Linked DNA regions of Homo sapiens: regions 2 and 3 are each linked to region 1. The links are contacts of gene promoters, found by promoter capture Hi-C in blood cells and fetal thymus (Javierre and others, 2016). All regions are on one chromosome and are shown on one strand. Each heading gives the region's core, a stretch centred on a gene start or on the middle of the fragment in contact. The rest is flanking DNA. Distances are from core to core; before and after follow the strand shown.

Evidence for each region. Contacts are between HindIII fragments. The CHiCAGO score rates a contact against its expected background, and 5 or more counts as called.
Region 2: a contact is called between a fragment that was not itself captured here and the fragment with the promoter of EOMES in region 1, in 5 of 17 cell types (total CD8 T cells, activated CD4 T cells, naive CD8 T cells and 2 more). The highest score is 10.4, in total CD8 T cells.
Region 3: a contact is called between a fragment that was not itself captured here and the fragment with the promoter of EOMES in region 1, in 6 of 17 cell types (total CD8 T cells, non-activated CD4 T cells, activated CD4 T cells and 3 more). The highest score is 12.9, in total CD8 T cells.

The regions. Positions count from the first base shown.
Region 1 is chr3:27,719,863-27,724,395 of GRCh38, reverse strand. EOMES (eomesodermin) reads left to right here and starts at 2,073. Exons shown (of 6, transcript NM_001278182.2): 1 at 2,073-2,982; 2 at 4,071-4,225. The coding sequence starts at 2,102. RefSeq lists a silencer at 2,438-2,647. The HindIII fragment of the contact is 2,734 bases long and covers 1,092-3,825 here.
Region 2 is chr3:27,960,646-27,965,178 of GRCh38, reverse strand. No RefSeq gene overlaps it. Among named protein-coding and RNA genes, the nearest start is that of LINC01967, 66 kb to the left of the region's middle. The HindIII fragment of the contact is 164 bases long and covers 2,563-2,726 here.
Region 3 is chr3:27,923,228-27,927,760 of GRCh38, reverse strand. No RefSeq gene overlaps it. Among named protein-coding and RNA genes, the nearest start is that of LINC01981, 91 kb to the right of the region's middle. The HindIII fragment of the contact is 1,709 bases long and covers 1,619-3,327 here.

The sequences.
Region 1 (4,533 bases), core at 824-3,323:
TGGACAATGTAGTGATCAAAACAGCCGTGCCAAACACTAACTATACTGATGACACAAAACGCAGGAAGCGCAGGGCAGAACGCGCTCAGTACCAGCTTTCTGGCGATCTGCTCCTGGCCACTCTGTCCCAGGACCTACAAGGCCACCGCCCCAGCCCACTAGTCTCAACTTGCCCCCTCCCCTGTGGCTGTGCCTTGACCCTGAAAATCTTCGCGCACTCCTGGGTTTCACCACCACACACACGCGAGCGCGCGAGCGCGCGAACACACACATCAAAAAAGAAAAAAAAAACCGTGATAAATGCCCTGGAGAGTCTAAGTGCATTAAGGACCTCGTTCTCGGAGACCCCAGACATGCCGATGTTGGTGCTGCTGTGGTTGGAAAACTGGGTTGGAAAGCTTCGCACTGTTCTACACTTGCGTGTGCGCACTCAGCAATCCTTTGGCCATCTCATCTGTTGTGGGCGAAGAGTTTCCCGTGTGATCGCGTTCGGTTGGGGAAGCAGAGTCCCGACATCTCAGCCGGAAAATGCGCTCCCGGAGCGATTACTGGCGGCGTCTGTAATTGCTTATTAACAGCGAATATTCAGGCTTCTCCTTATCCGCAACGAAACGTGCCCCCCGCTTCCGTAATAATGAAACGATAAAATATGACGGCCCCGCTCTTGAATCTATCTGAGGAAACGCAGCGAAGAAACAAGCAGCTGGAGTTTAATTCAATATCAAACTGATTATTTCACTAATTATTCTACCTTCTGTATTTGCCGCAGAGCAGAGGCGCAGGGAATCCTAACTGTGGGGCTGTTAGGGAAGCTTTGTTTCTTGGTGTCAGGCCTAACTGAAGATGGTGGTGAAGGGACGGAATCCGGGATCAGGAAAACTGAGCAGAAAGGATTTTAAATTGTGGGGAATAAAAGTGACTGTCTCCCCGAAAGCAGTTGTGTTGGCGTGAGTATGAAGTTGGTGTTAGCTCGCTTAGTTTCACTCTTGTCCTGTCCCCAGTACCCTGTCCAAGCTTCTGATTTAGAAGCTGAGAGCTTAGGTCCTCCAGGATGGCAATGTGCTCTGGCCGTCCCCGGAATCCCAAAAGCTTAGCGCGAGTTTCCTCTCTACAAACCTTTCCCACTGGGTAAAAGGATGGGAACAAACAAAAAGTGGTTCTGTGCGTTGAAGGCCAGGGAGTTTGCCTTCGACAAGAGGAAGGTGTGCTTTGAAGTTACAGCTTCCGACGAGGAAAGAGACTTCCTTGGGCCTGTCTCCAACTTGCCCCAGTTTCCCCAGCCTCCGGGACGGGCGCTTCCCTGCAAGCTATCAGCTTGAAGAGTCTTTCTCTCTCTGGCCTCTAAAATCTGCTCCAGCCATCTCATTCCTCCAGCGGAGGGCTGAGATGACTAATGCGCCAAGGGTGGACACCGCTATGGAGACCCCAAACTTTGTCCCCCTAAATTCCGGCGAAATTACAGACACCAGGATTGATTATCACAGCGGGACGCAGTCTCAAAAAAAAAAAAAAAAAAAAAAAAAAAAAAAGGAAAAGAAAGTCACAGGCGACTTGATCCAATTAGTAAATGCCTAATTGAATTAGTGTCACCTCCACCAGCCAATAGGAGGGTCTCCGGGCTGTGAGGCCGGGAAGCCCCTCCCTGGCCGCAAATATATAAAGCAGCTAGTGACAGCCCATAAGTTTCCAAGTGGTCAACTTGACCGATGCTTTGGCAATTGAAAAAGGGCAGAAAGGCGCGGGCTAGTGGGTGGATGGGGACAAAGATCTAAGTCACCTTCTTCCAGCGTGTGAGCCTGGGAGGAGGGTGGGGGTCCTGAGGAGCAAGAGGTACGAGGAAGGAAAAGGAGAGGGCTTCTGGGTTAGTTTCCACCTCCTGCTTTCCAACTCACGGCGCTTTCCTTCCGGAAAGGACGCTGGATTCAGGGCGCGCCAGTACGCGCAGTAGCGGCCCGCGAGTCGGCAGGTGGGTAGCCCCGGCGCGGGAGGAAGGGGAAGTTACCTTCCCCTCGGAAGAGGGCGCTGGCTCCCCCATCCTGCCTTTATAATAAGGCCACCGGAGGAGAGGAAGCAGCCAGCTGCCGTCTGCGCTTTGCAAAGCATGCAGTTAGGGGAGCAGCTCTTGGTGAGCTCAGTGAACCTGCCTGGCGCGCACTTCTACCCGCTGGAGAGTGCGCGAGGCGGCAGCGGCGGGAGCGCTGGCCACCTCCCCAGCGCGGCCCCCTCTCCTCAGAAGTTGGACTTAGACAAAGCGTCCAAGAAGTTTTCCGGCAGTCTCTCCTGCGAGGCGGTGAGCGGGGAGCCCGCAGCCGCCAGCGCAGGGGCCCCCGCGGCCATGCTTAGTGACACCGACGCCGGGGACGCATTTGCCAGCGCTGCGGCAGTGGCCAAGCCGGGGCCCCCGGACGGCCGCAAGGGCTCCCCCTGCGGGGAGGAGGAGCTGCCCTCCGCCGCTGCAGCCGCCGCCGCCGCCGCCGCCGCGGCTGCGGCCACTGCGCGCTACTCCATGGACAGCCTGAGCTCCGAGCGGTACTACCTCCAGTCCCCCGGTCCTCAGGGGTCGGAGCTGGCTGCGCCCTGCTCACTCTTCCCGTACCAGGCGGCGGCTGGGGCGCCCCACGGACCTGTGTACCCGGCTCCTAACGGGGCGCGCTACCCCTACGGCTCCATGCTGCCCCCCGGCGGCTTCCCCGCGGCTGTGTGCCCACCCGGGAGGGCGCAGTTCGGCCCAGGAGCCGGTGCGGGCAGTGGCGCGGGCGGTAGCAGCGGCGGGGGCGGCGGCCCGGGCACCTATCAGTACAGCCAGGGGGCTCCGCTCTACGGGCCGTACCCTGGAGCCGCAGCGGCGGGATCTTGCGGAGGACTGGGGGGCCTGGGGGTTCCAGGTTCTGGCTTCCGTGCCCACGTCTACCTGTGCAACCGGCCTCTGTGGCTCAAATTCCACCGCCACCAAACTGAGATGATCATTACGAAACAGGGCAGGTGAGCGCAGCGTGGAGGGGCCCCTGGGTTCGGGGATAAAGGGTGACGTGTGGTCCTGGGGAAGGTCCGGGATGAGGGAGCTGAACCCAGTTGTTCCGCGCGGTGCTTAGAGTGTTTCACCGCGCGCAATAAATCTCCGTAGACACCGCATCTCCAATGCGGTGTCCCTCTGTGTCAGTGCCCCGGCGGCTCTTGCAGGGTGCCAATGTTACGGCTGTACACCGCTTTTCCCTCCCATCATCCTCACCTGAACAGACCTGGAGGAGGCGGAAATGGAAATTAGGGCATGTCCACAAGCTGGATTCGTTAGATCCTCCTGCTCGGCGGTATGCTTGTGCATGCCTGCATGCCGGCAAGGAGCCACGGATAGGGAAGGCTCAAGAGCTGGCCACCTGAGCGCAGTAGATGGGCTCCCGCAGTTTTAGGCGCCAGGGTCTCCACGGGGCGTCTCCGGGAGGTGGGCATGAAGGCTAGAGCGCCGGCCTCGGAAGCTCGGTCGGAGTAGGTGGTTAGATCTGCCCTGGAGCCAGACCTGGCTCGGGTTCGGTGCGCGAGAAAGTTCTGATATACATCCAACTGCTAACACTGGCTACTTCTGGGGAAAGGGAGGGGTGGGTGCTGAGAGAGGGGCACTCAAAGGGGACTTTTAGCCTAAAGTTTTAATATATATTTTTAACAAGAATAACCTAATATTGTTCTCTGGTACTTTTCAAAATGGTGCATTTAAAAATTAGTAGTTTTTAACATTCTAGGAGAAAAATTTTAAGAGCGTCTGAAAGGGCCGAGAATATGAGCCTTCGGAAGCACGCGCGAATTTGGAATATACCGATGTTGGGGCAAGCTTTTTTTTTTTTTTTTTTTTTTTTTTTTTTTTTTTTTTTTGAAAAGACGGAAAGGTTCCAAGAGTTGCCAACTCAAAAATATTTTACATAGTTTCAGACCACTTGATCTACCAGCATTCTGTTCACTGCAAACTTTTAAATGTGTTCCGACCCTATCCCAGGTGTCTGGGGAACCCGCTGGGGCCTGGGCCTGTTCTAGGACATCCCAATTAAAATCGATTTTTCTGATTCTATTCCCTTGCACAGGCGCATGTTTCCTTTCTTGAGCTTCAACATAAACGGACTCAATCCCACTGCCCACTACAATGTGTTCGTAGAGGTGGTGCTGGCGGACCCCAACCACTGGCGCTTCCAGGGGGGCAAATGGGTGACCTGTGGCAAAGCCGACAATAACATGCAGGGTGAGCAGAGAAGAGGCTCGGGCCGGGGAGGAACGGGCGGGAAGAAATCGTAACCCTCGACTCACACAACTCACATTTAAATGTAGCACTTTTTTTTTCCCCTTCCATTCTGAGGCCTAGAGGTGTTAGTATGAGTGTCTTTGAGTTGCTTGTTTGACGGAGAGGAGAGTTTGCTAAGTCAGATTTCTTGTCTGCCAATATGTAGATATTTAGAACCTTTAACTAAGACATCACCCCACCCCCCAATCCCTACGTTTAACAAATCAGTAGTCATAAGCTCTCCAGGTGGGAAGGGCTCCTGGGATTCT
Region 2 (4,533 bases), core at 1,395-3,894, 240 kb before region 1:
TTGAACAGGTGCTGTGTGGCATGATGGCAGAGATGCCAATAGCATTAGCATAAGGAGACCAGGCATCGCTTTTCTCCAAGCTTTTTTTTTTTTTTTTTTTTTTTTGGTCAGATTAAGGGGAAGCTAAAGATACTACTCTGGGCCTTCGACTCCTTGCATATTTTGAGGCTCCTAGTCTTAAGTCTCTGCAAAGAATGGGGTGGGGGTTATGAATCTGAAAAAATTATAGCGAAAACATATTCTTTCTAGGCTAAGGAATATACATGTAAATCAAGTGTGGAGGAATGGGTAGGGGAAGAACGCTGTAAATTATTTTGTTCAAATGTATTGAAAAACATCCAGCTGTTACAGTCTATTTCTTTAGTTTCTGTACTTCCTTAAGCTAGTGAGTTATAAAGAATCACCACTAAAAGAAAAAAAAAAAGTTTTTCTCTCAGGAATTCACAGGAGTGCTGTTTTCTCAGCCTCTGGGGTGTGATCCTGTCTGCATTTTGTAAATCTTTAGTAAATGGAAAAATGATACCCATCTCAATCTGCCTGTGGTCTGTAAGTAGAATGGGCTCTGCAGAGGAGTCAGACTTTCTGGTTTATCAACAGAAAGATAAGTGACATGCCACAGAAGATTGGAGAATTGCAAGTAATCAAGTTTTATTTGTCCCTAGACATCAAGCCTGGATCTTTAAGAAGGTGAGTTTGCAAAAAGGTCTTAGAAATGTCAGTCATGGTTTCTACTCCATATAAAACTCCCCTCTTTATATGAAGCAGCAAACCAACAGCCTCTGCAGGGGATGCAGGAGCGATTCTGCCCTGTGATTCCTACCCAATCACTCATATTATGGTCAAGCTGGTTCAGAGTCCACCTCTCAGAAACTGGAATATGGAAACACTGAAAAAACTGTAAAACCTTTTAGAATCAGAAACTGAGATACAGGGTAGAGTAGGACTATGAAGACAATAGGGAGTTCCAAGTTACGAGCAGGACAGAAATGCTAGTAGCATAAGCTAAAGAAAAAATACACAGTCCGGGGTGAGTGGGAATGCTTGCTAGTGGGTAGTGGAGAAGGTGGTGACATTATATATGTGTGTGTGTGTATGTGTGTGTGTGTGTGTGTGTGACATATATTTATCTATCTATATAAGTATATAAAATGCCATTATATGACATACATACACTATGTCATATGACTATATATATATATATTGAGAGAGAGAGAGAGAGAGGAAGAGAGAAAGACAGACAGAGAGAGGCTGACTCACAAAGAGATTCAGAAAGACAGCATGTCTGCTTTCTAGGATAGATTTGATACCCGAAGACGTTCCAGTTGTAGTCCAATAAATTCCGCTCTTTCTGAAACTGGCCTGCATGATTCTCTTTCTCTAGAAATCTAAAGTGCCCCAGAAGCACAAAATGACTTTTGGGTGACCCAAGAGGCTGAACCCTGTGCAGGCAGCAGTGAGGGATCTGTGAAACTGGTGGGAGTTGTTTTTATGAGCAGACAATGATGGTGGCTTCCTTGGTGTGACCTCAGAGGGAAAAGAAAGCAGCATCACCTTCTTGGTCCTAATTCTCTCTTTCATGAGCCCTCTAAATTATCTCTCCCACCTCACTCCACTCCCTTTTTTAACTAAAACATAAAATTAATTCATGAATATGGCTTTTTAAAAAATTGGCCAGGCACGGTGGCTCACACCTGTAATCCCAACACTTTGGGATGCTGAGGCAGGCAGATCACCTGAAGTCAGGAGTTCAACACCAGGCTGGTCAACATGATGAAACCGTGTCTCTACTGAAAATACAAAAATTAGGTGGGCATGGTGGTACGCACCTGTAATCCCAGCTACTTGGAGGGTGAGCCAGGAGAATGGCTTGAACCCGGGAGGCAGAGGTTTCAGTGAGCCGAGATTGCACTCCAGCCTGAGCAACAGAAGGAGACTCCGTCTCAAAAAAAAAAAAAAAAAAAAAAAAAAAAATTCCCAATACAAAAGTGACAAGTAAATCACCTCCTATCCCAAAACTCTTAGTTCCTTGAACATTCTCCTCTGTCAGAGATTGTGCTATTATCTCTTTTTTTTATAGTTATCCAGAGATATTTTACAAATGTTCTAGTGTATAAATATACTCACACATAAATAACTCTTTAACAGAAAATATAGACTGTGTTTTTGCACAAATATGAGCATATCTACAGGACATATTTGCAGAAATAAAAATACTGGGCTCAAAAGTATGTGCCTTTTCCATTTTAACAGATAAAGCCAAATTCCCATCTTCAAAGTTGTATTTATTAACACTTCAACAAGTGATGCATGAGAGAAACACATACTCCTTCCTACCACGCCTCATCAAGTCTTCAGAGCTTTGCCAAAGAAATAGGCAGGACATGCTATTCCATGACTTTAATTTGTATTTCCTTAATTTCAAAATGAGGCTGAGGGTCTCTAAGATTCCTTTTGATGCCTTTCTAGTCTACCTACCTTCCTTTGCCCTTTGTTCTCCTGCTACTGCACGTTCTGCTCAAAGAATTGCCCCCAAACCAGTAGCATTGGCATTACCTTGAAGCTTGTTAGAAATGTAGAATTTCATACCTTACCTCAGGCCTGCCTGATTCAAAATCAGCATCTTAACAAGACCCCAGGGAACTCATATGTACACTAAATTTCAGGAGCATAGTTACAGACATTCTTCCCTGGCTTATGATGTGAAGCTCATTTCAAGTTTACAAGCTTCCAAGAAGTTCAATGTGGTTCAAGTGAAAGGACTCCGTGGTGCTTGGCCATGGAGTGGTTACTGTCACTACCATGGTTTGACTTATCAAATCCTCTGCCTCCATTCCTTCCCTGTCTCCAGGGTGTAGACAGCCTATTTCTAATTCGCATCACTGTCATCTCTCTGCATGTCACTTATTTATTAATGGGGCATACACAGCTGATGATTTACAAAAATATGCCAAGTCCATGAGTGTGCTTAACCAGGACATATAATTATAGAAAATATTACCATCAGCTGAGTAATGTATTCTCTATTCTTTATCTCCAGTTAATCAGAAACTGCATATCCTGGGCTCAGAAAGTCCATTTCGAGGTGTGAATCTGATTCACAATAAAGAATGATTTTCCTAATTCTGTAAAATGAAGTGATATCATTGCCCTGTTCGTGCAGTTTTAGCTTGGTAAAGGTAGCCCCTTAAAAACTAACAACGTAAAATTGGTGTTAATAACAACATCTCTTACAGAAGAGTTATAAAGCAATGCATATAAAACATTGAACACAGCACTGGATGCATTGTAAGTGCTCAATACATTTTACTGATGGAAAAAACAAAAACAAAAAACAACGAGGACCCTTACATATAAGTTTGCTATGACTATCATAACAAAGTACCACAGATTGGGTAATTTGGACAAGTCTATGTTGCAATCTTCTCTTCTTAGAAAAAGAAGTCGTATTAAGTTAAAGCCCACCCCAATGGACTCATTTTAGGTTAGTCACCTCTTTAAAGACACTATCTCTAAATATAGTCACATTCTGCAGTACTAGAGATTAGGACTTCAACTTGTAAATTTGGAGGAGACAATTCAGCCTGCAACACCTTCCAAATAAAATGTGATTTGAAAAGTAAAGATGCAATGACTGGCTTCCTTTTGTTGTTTTAATGAATATAGATATTGCTAGAATAGTCTACAGAAAATGTACACATGAAAAGTGACCCAGTGTATGCATTTAAGTAAGTTATCTCAATCTCTATATTCCAGTTTTTCTGTATAAACCAGGAAACAAATGTATACCCTATCCTGTCCAAACTTTTCCAACAGACCACAAAATTTCAGTCTTTAGAAGTGACTTTTATCATCTTCAAAAGCTTGTGTTTATTCTCCTCCCTGTGGTCTTTATTAGAGTGCAGCCATTTCCAAAGCACTGCTGCATGGTCCAACATTCACAGCTGTCCCAGGACAGAGCAAGTCCTCTGTCACCATTTCACAGGTGAGGAAATCAACATCCAAGGAGCTTAGGTAAGTTAACAACATTTCACAAATCACAGGTAATAAATTGCAGCTTTAAAAACAGAACCAATCATATACACTGTAGATTCCAGCTACTGTATATGACATTCTGGAAGAGGCAAAACAGTGGAGACTGTAAAAATTCAGGGGTTAAGTGGAAGGAAAGAGTGAATATGTGAAGCAGAGAGAACAGAGGATTTGTAGGGCAATGAAACTACTCTGTGATACTATGATGTTGAATACATGCCATTATAAATTTGTGCAAACCCATAGAATGTACAATACTAAGAGTGAGCCTTAATGTGAACTATGGACTTTGATAATTATGTGTCAATGTAAGTTCATTAATTGTAATAAATGTATCACTCTGATTGGGGATGGTGATAGTTGGGGAGGCTGTGTATGTGGCGGGGGAGGAAGTATAGGGAAAATCTCTGTACCTTCCATTCAATTTTGCTCTGAACCTAAAACTGCTCTGAAAAATTAAATCTACTAAAAAAAGAAGAAACCCAATTCTTCAGGCTCCTCCAG
Region 3 (4,533 bases), core at 1,224-3,723, 200 kb before region 1:
AAAGGTATAGTGAAGTTGTTAGATATTGAACACCATGAACAAAATAGCTACAAATTCAGACCAGTGGGTTGTCTGTGGTGGTGACAACTCAAAACCCTAAGTTCAACAATTGTTAGTAATGTGATATTCCACAATGGTAAACAACTTTTGATAAAGTTCAGCCTAAACCAAAGTACAATCTTCTCTTGATTTTTATGTTATGGCACACTTGAAAAAGTCAGTGGATATGTAAAACAAGCTGCAATCTAGGCTCATCTGATACACATCCACTTCCTCAATGCATTCTAAAAGTACTGTAAATTCTTGACTTTCCTAAGGCATAGGTCTCTATGGGCCACCAAACATGACATTCCCAATATCATAGTGGAATAGAAGGCTGAATCCACCATGATAATCCCAGGTATTTCAGACAGACAGGAGTGAGCACAGATTGGAGAAAGGAGGATGGGTGGAAGACCACCCAAAATGAGCTCTCAAACACAAATGCCAAACTATGCAGGGAAAACTAACCCCAAGAAATTCAGCCAACAGAATCACCAAGAGATAAAGACACACACACACACACACACACACGCACGCACACACACACACACCCCATAGGCACATCAGAATATAAAAGAAGAATGAAAATAATTTCAGTAAATCATCCCAGTTAGATCTGTAGCTACATAAATAAAATATTTTTCCTTACTAAGTCTGCCATTTTTTAAGTGGGATACTTCTAATTAACAATCTTGTACAGAGAATGAGTGCTATATAACCTAAGGTAGAGTTTTACTGAGTATTTTTCTTGAGTACATCTCACATGCCACCTAAAGGGGAGAAACTACTTTAAACCAAATTTTTAAAAATTTTAACTAACAAATGAAATATCACAAAAAATAACCTCCTAGAAGTTCAAAATCAGAGAACTCACAGTCATTCCACCTAATGTCCACCTCCAGCAGAAATCTCAAATCTCTCTGCACCATCCATGACACCTGCCCAACTCATTCCCAGTGAAATAAGTCACTGCTTCCAGAGCCAGCATTCCCTTTCTGAACAGCTCTAACTGTAAAGAAGTCTTTGTTACACTAATTCAGAACCTGGCAGGTTCTGAGATTCACTAATTCAGAACTCTGAAACAAAAGTGAGTTTGAATCCTGGCTCTACCACTCATCAGCTGTATGAGCTTAGGTGAATTATTTAATTTCTCTACTCCTTCATTTCTTCACCTGGTAAATAGTGATAATAATAGGTATCTATGCTCTGAGCTATTGTGAAAAGTGTTAACTCATGTCAATGATTGGGACAGTGTCTGGAAAATAGTAAGTGCCATATAAAGGTTAGCAATCATTCCACCTTTGCCCTTCAATATTCTCTTTGAATACCACTAAACAACTGCTATCGTCTCACCTAAGGATCACAGATCTTTGTACTGTTTCTCCTGCTGCATGATTGTTATTCTCTTTCCATGCTCATCAGGCTCCAATTTGCTAATACTCTTTTGCAAATTTGATTGCCACGTTTAAACAGTGTTCATGTGTGCTCTGCTCTGTACAAGATAGAATGTGTTCGTTCATGCAGCAATTTACAATCAACACCTACTCCACTTTTATTAATATTTCCAAAAAAAGCTTGTTTGTATAGGGAGTTTGAACCTCAGTTTACAATATGAGAAATTTTAATTTCTTTATATTTTCTATTACTGAATTCAATTTATATTGTGAGTTCCCATGCTAGTGAGTGGCAGAGACTTAATATGAGTCAATTTAAATTTAGTTTCCCTCAGAGTTGCATCAAAATTCTGGAGCCATAGGTTCACAGAACTTATAATGTCAAGGTTTTAGGGATCAAATGGGAGACAATACGTGACTGTCAGTGGGTATCTACACTGTCATCCACGCAGATGCCCTGGTTCCCTTCAAATCTTCACTCTGTGTTTATTGGTAGTATTGCACCCTTCTGCTCCACTCTGTTGTTCCCATTACAAAGACTTCTTTAAGAGCCAGGTGCGGTGGCTCACACCGGTAATCCCAGTATTTTGGGAGGCTGAGGTGGGTGGATCACCTGAGGTCAGGAGTTCGAGACCTGCCTGGCCAACATGGTGAAACCCCATCTCTACTAAAAATACAAAATTAGCAGGGCGTAGTGGTGCACACCTGTAATCCCAGCACTTTGGGAGGCCAAAGCCAGTAGGTCACTTGAGGTCAGGAGTTCGAGACCAGCCTGGTCAACATGGTGAAACCCTGTCTCTACTAAAAATACAAAAGTAGCTGGGCATGGTGGCGCATGCCTGTAATCCCAGCCACTCGGGAGGCTGAAGCAGGAGAATCGTTTGAACCCAGGAGGTGGAGGTTACAGTGAGCCGAGATCATGCCACTGCACTCCAGCCTGGGTGACAGAGTGAGGAGACTCTGTCTCAAAATTTAAAAAAAAAAAAAAAGAAAGAAAAAAAAAACACTTCTTTAAGATGCTGATTCTCTTTTGAGTCACACCTGTGCCTGAAAAAATTCTTACTCTGGGACCCTGCTCTGAAATGTGGAGAATTCTGCTGTGTTTTCAGGCCCTATGACCATCTGCTGCTGCAATGCCATGCCACAACACAAGGAACTCCATGAGGTTCACATCACACACACAGTTAGGCTTCCTCATCCAGCTAGGTGATGGGGACTTTGGAGCTTGCCTCCTCCCTACCCCCACCCCCAGGCACTACCCGGAGACAGAGGCATAGGTCTCCTGGGATTGCCTATCTCCAAATGGATCCAGTTTCCTCAACTCTCAGCCAACCCCTACAACCTCAGAAAGCCACCAGGGCTCATCACGTCCTCTGAGAATATCTCCATCCTTCAGCATAGGGAATCTTGTTCATTTCCGTGAAGGAAATATCGACTCCGATTCATCATGTTTTCTTCTAAATAGCCATAGGCTCTTTTGAAAAATGGAAGTTACAAACTTCACCATATCTTAAAGTTTACTTTCTCCTATGGCAACCTTTACCCAAAGAAATGAAGGCAAAACACCTAGCTTCCCAAATTGGAGATAGAGAAAAGGAGGGATAAAGTTAGGAGTAATAGAGAACATGAGAAGAAAAGTATCAGAGTTTTAAATTTTCTCATCTTATTACCTTTTTGGTGATATTCAATCAAACTGAGTCAATTCCATGATCAAATAAGAAATATTTTCCCAGGACCTACTCCATGGCAAGCATTGTGTGATGAATAAGACACGGGCCTTATTTTCAAGACACTTACTTTCTTATCACTCAACTAGGTCTCATCCTTTCCATTTCCTCTTCTTCTGCTTTATTTTAGATTGTATAATTTTTCAGCTGTATTATTATAAGCTTTTCACCTGCTTCAAATCTCTTGCCCTTCAGTTTTATGTGCCTCCAACTCATCCTCCACACTTTCTAAAACATTAATCTAATCATATCATCCTTTTACTTAAAAAGGTGCAGTGCTGCAATTATCTTCAGGCAAAATGCCAACCATGGCACTCAGCCCTTGAAAACATTATTTCCTCTAGTTCTGAAAACAATTATATCAGATAGCTATTATAATCTCAGTTTTACAAACAAAGAAACTAAGGCTCGGAAATCTTAAACTGTCATAACCAAGTCCATGGGGCTGGGAGAACCAGGACTCAAAATCAGCTTTCTTGTCACTAGATCCATTGCTTTTAATATTAATATTCTAGTCTCTTTAACCAGTTTCACCTCTTACTCTTCTGGAGAAAAACTGCTACTGTTACTACCATTGCTACACTAAGTAACAACATCATTTTAGATTACACGTCCTTATTTGTCAACAATATAAAGAGGCAAGGAGGAAGAAGACACTTACCTAGCTGGCTGAATCAGTCAGTCAAATGAGCCTGGCAGTCCATGGGTGACAAATTTTGAGCCAAATCACCCTTGCATGCAATGTATGATATACAAAGACTTAAAGATAACATACTAAGTGACCTGTTCCAGTTCATACACTACATTATTGTGTAAGTAGAACAGAAATCCCAGTCTCTGAATCCTCTGTCCATAAACCATACCAAAACACACAGATCCTCTAATCCAAATGAACAGAAACCTTTTAATAAGTTAGCCCAGTATAGCAAGCAACTTAACATTTTTGAAAGTTTTAAAATATGGCAACTAATCACATATCTAGGAAGTATGTGGTACAGTTAAATGGCAATTCACAGGCAAACCTCAAAAATACCAAAGTTGCTTATGACTGTAAACCTCACTCAAGTTTTTTTCCCAAGTGGTTTCAATATTCAGTTGGAAGAGTGACAGTTGGACTTAATGGTTTTATTTTCTCACTTTTCTTCAGAAACCAATCCATCTCACTACTGCAGTGCTTTCCAACCTTTTTAAACCCATGACCCCTTTGGATAAACTGAAAATCTCATGACACCATTCCCTTCACCGCCACCCAGAGCTTTGTGTATGCAGAAAATAAATTATATTTCTGACATACCATGTCAGATACGAAAAATTTTTGCATTTTATTTTGAAGTTGTTGTAAGAAAAGGGGTGTTTGATTTTCCAAATAT